Regions from separate parts of the Homo sapiens genome. Here region 1 is linked to region 2. The links are contacts of gene promoters, found by promoter capture Hi-C in human tissues and cell types (Jung and others, 2019). All regions are on one chromosome and are shown on one strand. Each heading gives the region's core, a stretch centred on a gene start or on the middle of the fragment in contact. The rest is flanking DNA. Distances are from core to core; before and after follow the strand shown.

Region 1 (7,055 bases), core at 818-3,317, 180 kb after region 2:
AAAATTAACAAAAAAGTCTCCTTCCTCCTACCCTACCCCTAGTACCATTCCACAAAAGTGACTACTGTTAGCCATTTCTTACACAGCTTTCAGAAAACTTATTATTATTTCAAAATTATTTTCAAAAGGGCTAATCCAGGCGCAGTGGTTCACATTTGTAATCCCAGCACTTTGGGAGGCCGAGGCAGGCGGATCACCTGAGGTCAGGAGTTCAAGACCAGCCTGGCCAACTTGGTGAAACCCTGTCTCTACTAAAAATACAAAATTAGCCAAGTGTGGTGACACACACCTGTAATCCCAGCTACTTGGGAGGCTGAGGAAGGAGAATCGCTTGAGCTCAGGAGGCAGAGGTTGCAGCGAGTCAAGATCGCGCCACTGCACTCCAGCATGGGCGACACAGCAAGACTCCATCTCCAAAAAAAGTGGGGGGAGGGGCTCATAATTCTTCATACCTCACTTTTGCATATGTCCTAGAGACCTTGTTATACAAGTACACACAAATCTACCTCATTCTTTTATATGTGATTCCACAGTTTTAATTCATTCCGTTATTTACTCATTTACTTGATGACTTTTATTGAATACCTACTATATACCATGGAGCTATACAGCAGAGACATAGCAGTGAAGAAGATAAATGAGGCCCCTTCTGTCTGGTCCTTGTATCTTAGTGGGCAGTAGACAGAACAAACAAAACAAAAGCAAGCTTCGTTCAGATCATCACAGAACTGCTGTGTGAAGATCTGAATTGTGTACAGCTGAGAGTGATGAGAGGCAGGAAGGGCTGCTTGCATAGGGAGGTCATGGAGGGACTTCCTGACATTTGAGCTGAGACTTGAGAAGGAGCCAGCCACACAATAATATAGAGTGAGAGCATTCCTGGCAGAGGAAACAGCTCAGGCAAAGGCTCTAAGGGGGAACAAGGCTAGTGTGTCCCAGGCTTAGGGTGCCGGCCAGATGAGTACAGAGTAGACAATGTGGGGAGCTTGGTGGGAGGCAGACGCAGAAAGGCAGAGGCAGGCAGTGGTCAGATCAGGGAAGGGTTAATACGCAAATGTGTGGATTTTGTCCTAAGTGGAAACTCTGAAAAATTTCAAGCAAGGGAGTCACACAATGGCACCTTGGAATGGGGTGGTGGATGTGGCCATTGGAGAAGGTGGACAAGCTCAGAATGCATTCTGGCCGTAGAGCCAACCCAACAGGCTGAAGGATTGGATGTGGGAGGGAGTGAAAAGAAAGGAATAAAAATTGCAGGTGACTTCTACGGTTTTCACTTGAGCAATTGGGAGGGCAGTAAAGGTGGGTCCCTTTACGGAAATGGAAAGACTAAGAGAGCAGCAGTTTTGGGGTGGAATTGGGGAGAGGAAACAGGGACTCTGTTGGGCGTACAGATGCTCAAATAAAGATGACAAGCCCCCTATTGGCTGTATGAGTCAGGCGCTGGGGGAGGGACTGGAGCTGTAGGTGCACAATGCATGCCGATGTATCTGTGTGTCATACAAGGCCCCATGTATGACTGCGTGTGTATACACATGCACAGATGCACACATTGTTATGTCATCCCAGACCATGTTTTTGTATTTTTGTACCTGTATCTTGGTATATATCTGAGTATATCTTTTTTTTTTTTTTTTTTTTTTTTTTTTGAGACAGAGTCTTGCTCTGTTGCCCAGGCTGGAGTGCAGTGGTGTGATCTTGGCTCACTGCAACCTCTGTCTCCCGGGTTCAAGCGATTCTTCTGCCTCAGCCTCCCAAGTAGCTGGGACTACAGGCGTGCACCACCACACCCAGCTAATTTTTGTATTTTTAGTAGAGATGGGGTTTCACCGTGTTGGCCAGGCTGGTCTCGATCTCCTGACCTCGTGATCTGCCCACTTCAGCCTCCCAAAGTGCTGGGATTACAGGCGTGAGCCACCACGCCTGGCCTATCTGAGTATATCTTTAGGAGAAATTTCCAATAGTGGAGCATTAGTCAAAAGGTCCATGAATTGACTTTTTTTTAATAGATCTTGACAAATTTTCCTTCAAAAAGCTCTTGCCCACTGTCATGCCAAGCGTCAGGTTCCAGCCCATGTTGAGGTCTGAGGGGAGTGGGTGGATGGGTGGCGAATAGCGGAAGGAATATTTAGGGGGCTGTAGGCAGGTAAAATATGGTTTTATTCAGCAGCTTTTTCATCAGCAGTTTTTTTTATATACTTTAAGTTCTAGGGTACATGTGTACAATGTGCAGGTTTGTTACATAGGTATATATGTGCCATGTTGGTTTGCTGCACCCATCAGCTCGTCATTTACACTAGGTATTTCTCCTAATGCTATCCCTCCCCCAGCCCCCCACCCCTTGACAGGCCCCGGTGTGTGATGTTCCCCACCCTGTGTCCAAGTGTTCTCATTGTTCGATTCCTACCTATGAGTGAGAACATTCGGTGTTTGGTTTTCTGTCCTTGTGATAGTTTCATCAGAAGCTTTCTCATACAATTCACCTTTATCTCGGCTGCCTGCTCCAGCTTTGCGGCTCTTGCCATTCCCAGGCTTACAGCTGCATTCCCTGGCCTACAAGCCTGGCTCTCCCTTATGGGGTCAGCAGTTTTACTCTCTGCCTCTGGGCACAAGCCATGCCGAACCACATGTACAGCGTCAGCAGGGCAGTTATACCTTTTACAGACAATAGTGGCTCTGAGCCACTTACACAAACAGATTACATAACAAGTGGAGTTATGCGCCTGCGCGCCAGACTCCCTGAGTCACGCTGGCCCTGATGTTTGCCTCTGCCTGTTTTGTTTTTGTTTTTGTTTTTGTTTTTTGAGACGGAGTTTCGCTCTGTCGCCCAGGCTGGAGTGCAATGGTGCAATCTCGGCTTACTGTAACCTCCGCCTCCCAGGTTCAAGCGATTCTCCTGCCTCAGCCTCCCGAGCCACCACACCCAGCTATTTTTTTTTTTTTTTTGTATTTATAGTAGAGATGGGGTTTCACCATGTTGGCCAGGCTGGTCTCAAACACCTGACCTCTGGTGATCCACCCGCCTCAGCCTCCCAAAGTGTTAGGATTGCAGGCGTGAGCCACCGCACCTGGCTAACCTATTCTTGACCAAAGCACATCCATGTACCTTACACCCACTTACCTTCCCATCAAGAACACTCAACGATGTCCCTTTCCCTACACTCTCGCCAGTATTGGATATTTTCACACTCTATTTTCTTTTCAATCTGATAGAAGAAAATAATATCTTATAATTTTCAGAATTTGCATTCCTTTATTTGCCATTTTAGTTTTTTTCCTGTGAACTATCCATTTGCCCATTTTGCCATTGAGCTTTTAATCTATCTTACTGAGTTCCTCCGAGTGCTTTGTAAATTAAGAAAATAAGCTCTCTGTCAAATTGCCTGCAACATTTCCTTCATAGCTTGTCATTTTTTAAAAAACTTTCAAAGGTGTTTTCACCCAGTGATGTTTCATCTTTTTTCTGAGGTCAGATTTCTCAATCATTTGCTTTATAAAGTTTGAGTTTTCCTTAGGATGCTCCATTTCAAGAGTCTAATAAATTCACCCATTATTCTAAAACTTTTGTAAATTTCATTTTATATTTTCAGTTTATTCTAAAACTTGCAGTTTTCAGTTTATTCTAAAACTTTTAAATAGTCTAAGACTTTAGAAAGATTTCAGTTTATTCTAAAACTTGTGTAGTTTCTTCGTATTTAAATCTTTGATCCATTTGAAACTATTTTGGCTTACAGAGTGCGGTATGAACAGAACTTGAGTTTGTATAAGACTTAGCCAGCTGTCTCTACATCACTGATTGAGTAACCCCTCGTGTCCCATGCATAGTCCTAGGCGCCACTGTGCTGGATCAGAAGCGAAGGGAGAAGGTTAAGTGACTCACTCAGTATTTGACCACAACACTGCTTAGCTCAAAAGTCCACCTTGCTGCCCCCTTTTAGTTAAAATGAGCCTGTTAGTGAGACCCTTGATTTTTTTAGCTTTTTTTATTTTTAGTTTTTCTGGGTCATAGTAGGTGTATATATTTATGAGGTGCCTCGGGAGCATTCTGGACCATCACAGACGCTTTGGGTAACTCTTACATTGGAGGGTAAGCCCATCCCCTTCTTAATCAATACGGAGGCTACCCACTCCACATTACCTTCTTTTCGAGGGCCTGTTTCCCTTGCCTCCATAACTGTTGTGGCTATTGACGACCAGGCTTCTAAACCTCTTAAAGCTCCCCAACTCTGGTGCCAACTTGGACAACATTCTTTTATGCACTCCTTTTTAGTTATCCCCACCTGCCCAGTTCCCTTATTAGGTGAGGCATTTTAACTAAATTGTCTGCTTCCCTGACTATTCCTGGGCTATAGCCACACCTCATTGCTGCCCTTTTCCCCAGTTTAAATCCTCCTTCGCATCATCCCCTTGTGTCTCCCTACCTTAATCCACAAGTATAGGACACCTCTACTCCCTCCTTGGTGACCGATCATGCACCCCTTACCATTCCATTAAAACCTAATCACCCTTACCCCGCTCAACACCAGTATCCCATCCCACAGCACACTTTAAAAGGATTAAAGCCTGTTATCACTGGCCTGCTACAGCATGGCCTTCTAAAGCCTATAAACTCTCCTTGCAATTCCTCCATTTTACCTGTCCAAAACCCGGAAAAGTCTTACAGGTTAGTTCAGGATCTGCACCTTATCAACCAAATTGTCTTGCCTATCCACACCGTGATGCCAAACCCATATACTCTCCTATCCTCAATACCTCCCTCCACAACCCATTATTCTGTTCTAGATAAATGTAGCTGACCCCATAGATCCTAAATCCTTTCCCCACTCCTCTTTCCATTCCTTAAAAAACTCATCCCAACCCTTTTCATTACACACAGCTGAAGTACAGGACTGTGTGGTCGGAATTCTTACACAAGAGCTGGAACCACGCCCTGTAGTCTTTCTGTCCAAACAACTTGACCTTACTGTTTTAGCCTAGCCCTCATGTCTGCGTGCAGCGGCTGCCACTGCTTTAATATTTTAGAGGCCCTCAAAATCACAAACTATGCTCAACTCACTCCGTACAGTTCTCATAACTTCCAAAATCTATTTTCTTCCTCCCACCTGATGCATATACTTTCTGCCCTCCGGCTCCTTTGGCTATACTCACTCTTTGTTGAGTCTCCCACAGTTACCATTGTTCCTGGCCCAGACTTCAATCCAGCCTCCCACATTATTCTGGATACCACACCTGACCCCCATGACTCTATCTCTCTGATCCACCTGACATTTATTCCATTTCCCCATCTTTCCTTCTTTCCTATTCCTCACCCTGATCACACTTGGTTTATTGATGGCAGTTCCACCAGGCCTAATCACCACTCATCAGCAAAGGCAGGCTATGCTATAGTATCTTCCACATCTATCATTGAGGCTACTGCTCTGCCCTGCTCCACTCCCTCTCAGCAAGGCGAACTCATTGCCTTAACTCAGGCCCTCACTCTTGCAAAGGGACTACGCGTCAATATTTATACTGACTCTAAATATGCCTTCCATATCCTGCACCACCATGCTGTTACATGGGCAGAAAGAAATTTCCTCACTACACAAGAGTCCTCCATTATTAATGTGTCCTTAATAAAACCTCTTCTTAAAGCTGCTTTACTTTCAAAGGAAGCTGGAGTCATTCGCTGCAAGGGCCATCAAAAGGCATCAGATCCCATTGCTCAGGGCAACTCTTATGCTGATAAGGTAGCTAAAGAGGCAGCTAGTTTTCCAACTTCTGTCCCTGATGGCCAGTTTTTCTCCTCATTGGTCACTCCTATTTACTGTCCCACTGAAGTTTCCACCTATCAATCCCTCTCCACTCAAGGCAGATGGTTTTTAGACAAAAAAAAAATCTCCTTCAAGCCTCACTAGCCCATTCTATTCCTGTCGTCATTTCATAACCTCTTCCATGTAGGTTACAAGCCATTAGCCCGCCTCTTAAAAACTCTCATTTCCTTTCCATTGTGAAAATCTATCCCCAATCCACCACTCTTGACTCCCTCTTGGAGTGGGTAGATGATCTTTGCTGACAGGACACACTCCAATACTCTCACCCTTATGAAGTCCTGTTCTTTACTTTTATACTCACTCTTATTCTTGTTCCCGTTCTTATGCCACCCTCTCTACCTCTTCGCAGCTATCTCCACCACACTATCAATCTCACTCACTCTCTCCTAGCTGTTTCTAATCCTTCTTTAACAAACAATTGCTGGCTTTACATTTCTCTTTCCTCCAAAATCAATGAGGCCCCGACTTACTCACTGCTAAAAAAAGGGGGACTCTGTATATTTTTAAATGAACAGTGTTGTTTTTACCTAAATCAGTCTGGCCTGGTATATGACAACATAAAAAAACTCAAGGATAGAGCCCAAAAACTCACTAACCAAGCAAATAATTGCGTTGATCCCCCTTGGACACTGTCTAATTGGATGTCCTGGGTACTCCCAATTCTTAGTTCTTTAATACCTATTTTTCTCCTTCTTTTATTCGGACCTTGTGTCTTCCATTTAGCTTCTCAATTCATACAAAACACATACAGTCCATCACCAATCATTCTGTGCAACAAATCCTACTTCTAACAACCCCACAATATCACCCCTTACCCCAAAATCTTTCTTCAGTTTAATCTCTCCCACTCTAGGTTCCCATGCTGCCCCTAATCCCACTCTAAGCATCCCTGAGAAACATCGCCCATTATCTCTCCATACTACCCCCCAAAATTTTCGCCACCCCAACACTTCACCACTATTTTGTTTTGTTTTTCTTATTAATATAAGAAGACAGGAATGTCAGGCCTCTGAGCCCAAGCTAAGCCATCATGTCCCCTGTGACCTGCACATATACATCCAGATGGCCTGAAGCAACTGAAGATCCACAAAAGAAGTGAAAATAGCCTTAACTGATGACATTCCACCATTGTGATTTGTTCCTGCCCCACCCTAACTGATACGCTATATTCTCCCCTGCCCTTAAGAAGGTACTTTGTAATATTCTCCCCGCCCTTGAGAATGTACTTTTTATGCCTATCCCAAA
Region 2 (7,103 bases), core at 1,079-3,578:
CGAGTAGGTGGGATTACAGGTGCCTGCCACCATGCCTGGCTAATTTTTGTATTTTTAGTAGAGACGGGGTTTCACCATTTGGACAGGCTGGTCTTGAACTCCTGACCTCAACTGATCTGCCCGCCTTTGCCTCCCAAACTGCTGGGATTACAGGCATGAGCCACTGCGCCCAGCCAAGAAGCTTCTTATTTTTACCCATCAATCGCTATAGGCCCAGCGCAGTGGCTCACATTTGTAATCCCAGCACTTTGGGAGTCTGAGGCAGGAGGATTGCTTGAGCTCAGGAGTTTGAGACCCTGCCTCTACAACAATTAAAAAAAAAAAATGAGCCAGGCGTGATGGCATGCGCCTGTTGTCCCAGCTACTCCCAAGGCTGAGTTAGGAGAATCGCTTGAGCCCAGGAGGTTGAGGCTACAGTGAGCTGTGATGGCACCACTGCACTCTAGCCTGGGCCACAGAGTGAGACCCTGTCTTGAGGGGTGGGGAGGCAGAAGAAAAAAAAAGAGAAAGAGAGAAAGACCTTGTCTCAAAAATACAAAAACAAAAACAAAAAACACCCCACAAAAACAAAAATAACTATGGGGCATTCTGGGTGGGACTGATGCATGTGGAGGAACAGAAAAGAAAAAGAAAAATAGTGACAGCCCAGTTGACCAGGGGCCTGTTTGATTGATCCAAATAGGTTCTTTTCAGGAGCCTAAAATGCAAGCACAACACACCCCTAAAACTTACCCGATTCTCTTTCGAGAGGCTGAGGTGGGAGGATTGCTTGAGTCCAGGAGTTCAAAACCAGCCTGGACAGCACAGTGAGATCCCTGTCTCTACAAAATACAAAATGTTAGCCAGGCGTGGTGGTGCGCACCTGTAGTCTCAACTACTTGTGAGGCTGAGGCAGGAGGATCACTTGAGCCTGAGGGATTGAGGCTGCAGTGAGCCATCCATGATCGTGCCATTGTGCTTCTGCACTCCGGCCTGGGTGACAGAGTGAAACTCTGTCATAAAAAAACAGAAACAAAAACAAAAAACCCGACCCGATTCTTGTCACAGTATGCCCATTTGCAAACTGTCCAGCCTACAGCCTAGGCCAAGGAACAGGACAAAACCTGGGATCCCGGGCAGGAGAGTTTGGTTTCCACCAAGTTTTACTTGGTTTATCTATTTATTAAACCCAAGGCTGACGGCTGCTTCTTGCTGCTGTTTATTAATAACGATTCCCAACACAGGCTCCTCAGGGGCAGCCGGGGAAGCCAGTCCCAGGGCACAGGCTGGCATCACACTCTGCCTCTGAGGGACCCCAGGCAGTCTGAGGCAGCCCTGGGGACATGAGTGCTTCCTTTCCCAGCCCCTTCCCTGGAAAGTGAAACCCATCGTGGCTTCCTCTCCCAGTCTTGGGGCTGCCGGGCTCAGCTTCGGTGGGGGCAGAGGACACAGAGGATGGACATCAGAATTGGGAGAGGCTCCAACATCCCCCAGGAAACTGAGGCCCCAGGGAGGCAGGAAAAACCAGCTCCAGGTGGCTGGCCGAGTTGGAGGCGGAACTGGGACCAGAATCCAAGTTTTCCCAGGGCCTCCTGAGGACAGGAACCTTTCCCCTGTGTTCCCTGGGAGTGCAACCGTTGTTATTGTCGCCAAGAATGGAGGCGGTAGCGTCAGACCTAGACTTTCTTGCACAGTATTGTGGCTCTTCCAGCAGCAGGCGGGGAGCCAGCAGGGCACACGGACCCAGCCATCGTGACCTAGATTCTGGGTTCAGGGGTAGAGACTTGTTTGCTAGTGGGTCGCACTGAGTCAGGCTCTTCTGTAGCACACCCCAGGTAACAGAGGTGCTGGGCGGCCTGAGCAAAGGGACAACTTTTTGCCACCCATGCCAGTGGGCAGTGGGTGCAGACACTCACAGCACAGGCACCTGCTGCGATGCACGCGGCGCCCACGGAAACCCGAGGCTGCCAGCCGCCGCCCTGGAGACCCCAGAGACAGCGGCAGATGCGTGTGCTTCAAGGGGCAGCGTGGCTGCTGGGGCGCTCCCTAAAGGGCAGTGGCACGGGGTCGCGCCGCGAGCAGAGGGGCGCGGGTGGGCGCGCAGGAGTTAGCGAACTGACACGGAGGCGCCAGGCGGACGCACGGACGCACCGAGGGCCGCAGGGCCGCACAGCCGGGCACACATCGTCGCGCAGCGGTTCAGGCTCGGGGGCCTCCTCGGCGGAGGCGGCCAACTCTCACCCTCAGCGCGGGGAGGGGCGGGCGCCGGGGGCGGGGCGGCGCCGTCCGGGCCCTCCCCCTGCCCCGCCTCGGGTCGGCGTCCTTAGCCGCTGGCGCGTTGTTGGTTTCGGGTTGTCAGGCAGCGCGCGAGGCGGCGGGCAGCTAGCAGCTGGCGGACGCGACCCGGAGGCGGTGGGGGTGCGGCTGAGCCATGCCCGGTGGCGCGGCCTGAGCCCCTCCACCTGCTGCAATCATGAAGGACAGCGGGGACTCCAAGGACCAGCAACTCATGGTGAGACCCTTTTAGACCCTCCTCCCCACCCCGCTCCGTGGTCTACTTCAGTCGGCCTCCAGCGACAGAGTCCTGTCCCCTCGCCGCCACCCCACTGAGAGGACAGGCAACGACCAGGGCCGGGACTCTTCAGAGCAACTTTCCCCAAGTCCTGCAGGATGGGTGTCAAGAAGGGACCATGGCCTTTTTAGACTTTCCTGAGCCTGAAAATTACCCCAACTTCAACCCCACCCCCACCTTTCCACCCTCCCATTGGGAGATCCCGCCCCCAAAGCGTGCGCAGATGAATCTCGGCTCTCTCATCCAGAAACGCCAGGGGCAGGGAGGGCTTGACCTAACTGCCCCCAGAAGGAGGGTGGCGGTTTCCCAGTTAATCAGAGGCTGCTCCAGCCCTGGTGAGGTCAGGAGTTTAAAGGGATGTGGGGGTCACCAGTAGGAAGACAAGGGCCCCTGGTGTCAGGATGGGGCCCGGAGTGCCTGGTTCTTGGGCTGCAACACGGATGCTGCCCAAGTCCGGATTCGAAGTAGTTCAGAGAAGTGCTAGATGCAGCTACCATGGCCCCACAGAGCCCTGGGGCCTGGGACAGATGGGGAGGTGAGAGTGGGGGCTGTGGAGGGGAAGGTGGAATTCCTGATCATCAGTGGTGCCTGGGCCAGAGCAACAAGGGAGATGACTCAGTGACCTCGAGGCCACCACTAGGCTGTGGGTGGGTGGGTGTCTCTCTCAGCAAGCCCCTTCCTCATCCCCTAATTTTTGAGGTCTGGGGAAGGGCCCTCATCACCAGAAGGTGGGCAGTAAGGTAACTGGAGGATAATGTTGCTCCCAGAGTCCCCTACCTCTCAAGGGTGGGCTTGCTTCTCTGAAAGGAGCCTCAGCTCCAGCCCCCAAGCAAGCCCTGGGCTCTAGGACATCCTCTCTGGCTTTTTAGAATGTGTCTCTTTGAAAATCACTGGCCTTGGCATGTATTGTGTGCCCCGGGGAGCAGGGATGAAGGGTCCTCCCCTCCCGCCAGTGGAATTTGGCTGAAGATGCCACTAAAGGTGACCCGTCAGGTAGTGTAGTTCCCTCTGAAAGTGCCTTTTGTTTTGTTTTGTTTTGTTTTTCTTTTTTGAGACGGAGTTTCACTTTCTCACCCAGGCTGGAGTGAAGTGGTGCGATCTCAGCTCACTGCCCCTCAAGTTCAAGCGATTCTCCTGCTTCAGCCTCCCGAGTAGCTGGGATAACAGGCATGCACCACCACGCCCAGCTAATTTTTGTATTTTTAGTAGAGACGGTGTTTCGCCGTGTTGGCCAGGCTGGTCTCGAACTCCTGACCTCAGGATCCGCCCACCTCGGCCTCCTAAAGTGCTGGGATTACAGGCGTGAGCCACCACGCCAGGCCTGAAGGAGTCTTCACTCGGCCAGAGGGCCGTTCATTCTATCCCCACACCCAGCAGCTGTTGCCCTTTGATCAGCACAAGACGTGCTCCCCACTCCACCCTGTTCTTTAGGGAGATCCACGCACAGGATGAGACCCATTTCACACTGGCTGGAGGACAGGCAGATGGGGGTGGGCGCTCTAGGTGACACTCTCCTCGGTGTAGGAATGTGGTCACAGGCTGTTGGGATGATGGGGGACATTCCCTGCTCCATCCCACCTACCAGGCCTCATCCCAGAGCCGTGCCTGCACCTTCCTCTGCAGCACGTCATTCGCGGAAACACAGAGAGGCTGCTCCAGTGCCAGGGCCCCAAGTTCAAGCCCAGGGGAGCTGCGAGTGTTTTATTTGGGCGTGAGGCTGAGGCAGGCTGGAGGAGCAGACAGCTCTCTCCCCTGGGGCTCTCCCGGAGGCCAGGGCTCCTGGGGAGACTCATCAACTCAGACACAGTCCAACACTCTGTGGACCTGCTGCCCTCTGACCTAGGTAGAGTTTTACTTAGGACAAGGGAGGCCTGAGATGGCTGAATGCTAGAGAAGCCAGGGGCTTGCTTGAGGTCTCTCTGAGGCCCAGCATGGTCCTCTCCCTCTAATCCCAGGGGCTTGGTTTTCCCTCCCAGGTGGCGCTTCGGGTCCGGCCCATCAGCGTGGCAGAGCTGGAGGAAGGAGCTACCCTCATCGCCCATAAAGTGGATGAGCAGGTATGCAGGGCTCTGCAGCAGGAGCTGCAGGGCAGAGGTCTGCTCAGATGGCTCAGCTCACCTGGTGAGGGCAGAAAGGGCCCCTGTGGCTTGCAGCACCCTCCTTCCTCTACTCACTGAACTCTTGGCTGTGCTGTTGATGACATCACCAAGGAAGCTGGGGGCTCTTCTTCCAGGAAGCCTTCCTAGATTGATCCAAGGACAACTGGGAGCTTCCCTAGCCTGGGTGGGCCCTGATCCTTTACCTTTCACATGCTCATTGCTTGACTTTCCCACCCTAATATGCCTGCTGCCCACAGAGCACATATATATATGGTTGAGAGCTAAAGCTCGCCTCTAGGGTGTAACGTGTGGCAAAATCCTCGCTCTCTGTTTGCAATCTTGGTCCTCATGTCACCAGGATGAGGAAGGCAGGGCACACGAGGCAATAAGTGTGTATCAAGTACCAGCAGCATGCTGGGTACTGTTCTAGAAACTGGGAAACTGTGGTGAACAGAAAAGGCCCTGTCCTCTCTCCATTACCTTAAGTCTAGTGTGAAGAGATGAGGCATTCATCAAAGAATTGCATCACAAACAAACGAGTTTGCAGCTAACAAGGGCTTCAAAGAAATGCTTAGTGGCATGAGAGTAGGTAAGAAGGGGATAAGACCTAAACCTGGAGGTCAGCGAGGGCTTCCTTAAGAAACTGTGCTTGACACTTTGGGAGGCCGAGGAGGCCAGATCACGAGGTCAAGAGATCAAGACCATCCTGGCCAACATGGTGAAACCCAGTCTCTACTGAAAATACAAAAATTTAGCTGGGCGTGGTGGCACGTGCCTGTAGTCGCAGCTACTCAGGAAGCTGAGGCAGGATAATCGCTTAAACCCAGGAAGTGGAGGTTGCAGTGAGCCGACATCACGCCATTGCACTCCAGCCTGGGTGACAGAGTGGGACTCTGTCTCAAAAAAAAAGAGAAAAAGAGAAAAAAAAAAAAAAACTGTGCTTGAGCTGAAAACATAAGGGGTGAAGAAGAGGTCATTAGTAGCATGCATGAGGGGAGAAATGTTGACCTGAGGGGCTTGCATGTGCAAAGGGCCTGTGGTGAGAGGGACTGGGATGCAACTGGGTAGCTGAGAAAAGGCCAGAGTGGCTCAAGCAGGAGAGTAAGGGGCAAGAGGTGTGAATGGGCTGGGCCAAACCACATACTCTGTAGACCATGGCCAGGATGTTTGTTTGGGTAGGCAGTTGAGGACTCGTGCTGGGATGTACACAGGCACAGTGGTGGGGGCAACAGGAGTGGGCTTGGTGCCCAGGTAGGAGCATCGTGGTGGTAGGATGTGCTAATGGCTCAGAGAAGTTGGGTGGCACTGTACAATGCAGAGAAAGGCACACGTGAGCACCTGATGGGCCTGGGCTCAGGTCCCACGGGCTGGACTCATGAAGCCCTGGGCCCAGGATAAGCAAACCAGAGGCAGATGGCACACTTCCAATGCCTGTTTACCTCTGGGCTCCCCAGGGGCAGGGGCCCACTCAAGCCTCTTTCTTCAGCAGTGATGATGGAACTGTGGGCACAGTAGAGCCATGGGTAGCAGCATCCTCATTTCTTTGCCCATATTCCTTCTTGGAAAAGGGTGGGCTTCCTCAAAGACCTTGGGGAAAGCAGGGGATGACTGGGAAGACCTCGTCTAAATGGGTCAGACCCAGCTGGAGCAGAATGAATGCACATAAACAGTGGTTCGAGGAGGTTCTGCCATTTGCCAGCTGTGCAGCCTGGGGGGTTGCTTCCAGGAGCTTCAGTTGCCTCATGTGTAAGTGGAGACAGACATCATGATGCCTTCTTTAGAGGGTCTTTGTAGGCTAATGTACGCACATGCTTACCCAGTCCTTGGCACATAGGAAGAGTTTCATAGATGTCAGTTATCAACGTCTGCTAGAGACTGAAATTCCCCAGGGCTGCTGGGTTGGCTCAGGAGAGGAGCCATAGAGTTCAGGAGGAGAAACCTCCTTCCAGGCAAAGCCACTCTGTTTGTCCAACTTGTCCCGAAGACATCAGGTCCTCGGGGTTGGGACAATGCTGACTCTCTCTCTGCTACTCCTGGCTCCTGGCCTGCGTGGGGGCTGATAAATATTAACTGGTGCTGATGGGAACGCTCCCTGTCAAGGGGACAGCCCATTGTGTGCCCACACACGGCAAACACTGGTTCCTTTCTATCCCTGCGTGTGGAGCAGGAGGGGCTCCCTCTCTGGGTCTGGCCTAATCCAGCCAAGATACGCCTCCACTGCCTCCACCTCCAAGAAGGCCTCTGAGCTGGGTGGTTCTAACAGGGCTGCTCCTTTGTCAGCTGGAGGTGCGGAGAGTCTTGTCTGGGCTGGCACTGAGGAGAGCTCTCCATGCAAACTCCCTGTGGGCTTCTGGCCCTAAGCTCCTTCTGTCCCCAGTGGGTTCAAAGTTTGGCTTGCACCAGGGATCCAGCCCAGCCCTTCTAACGGAGGACTGTAGTTTAGGAGCAGCCAT

The links. The method cuts DNA at HindIII sites, captures the fragments that hold promoters and counts their contacts. A contact is called where the count stands out against the background at its distance.
Region 1: a contact is called between a fragment that was not itself captured here and the fragment with the promoter of KIF19 in region 2, in 2 of the 25 tissues and cell types used here (small bowel and stomach).

Annotation. Positions count from the first base shown.
Region 1 is chr17:74,499,225-74,506,279 of GRCh38, forward strand. No RefSeq gene overlaps it. Among named protein-coding and RNA genes, the nearest start is that of CD300LB, 29 kb to the right of the region's middle. The HindIII fragment of the contact is 5,799 bases long and covers 1-4,967 here.
Region 2 is chr17:74,323,898-74,331,000 of GRCh38, forward strand. KIF19 (kinesin family member 19) reads left to right here and starts at 2,329. Exons shown (of 20, transcript NM_153209.4): 1 at 2,329-2,491; 2 at 4,528-4,608. The coding sequence starts at 2,453. RefSeq lists a silencer at 2,144-2,363 and an enhancer at 4,494-5,408. The HindIII fragment of the contact is 22,604 bases long and covers 1-7,103 here.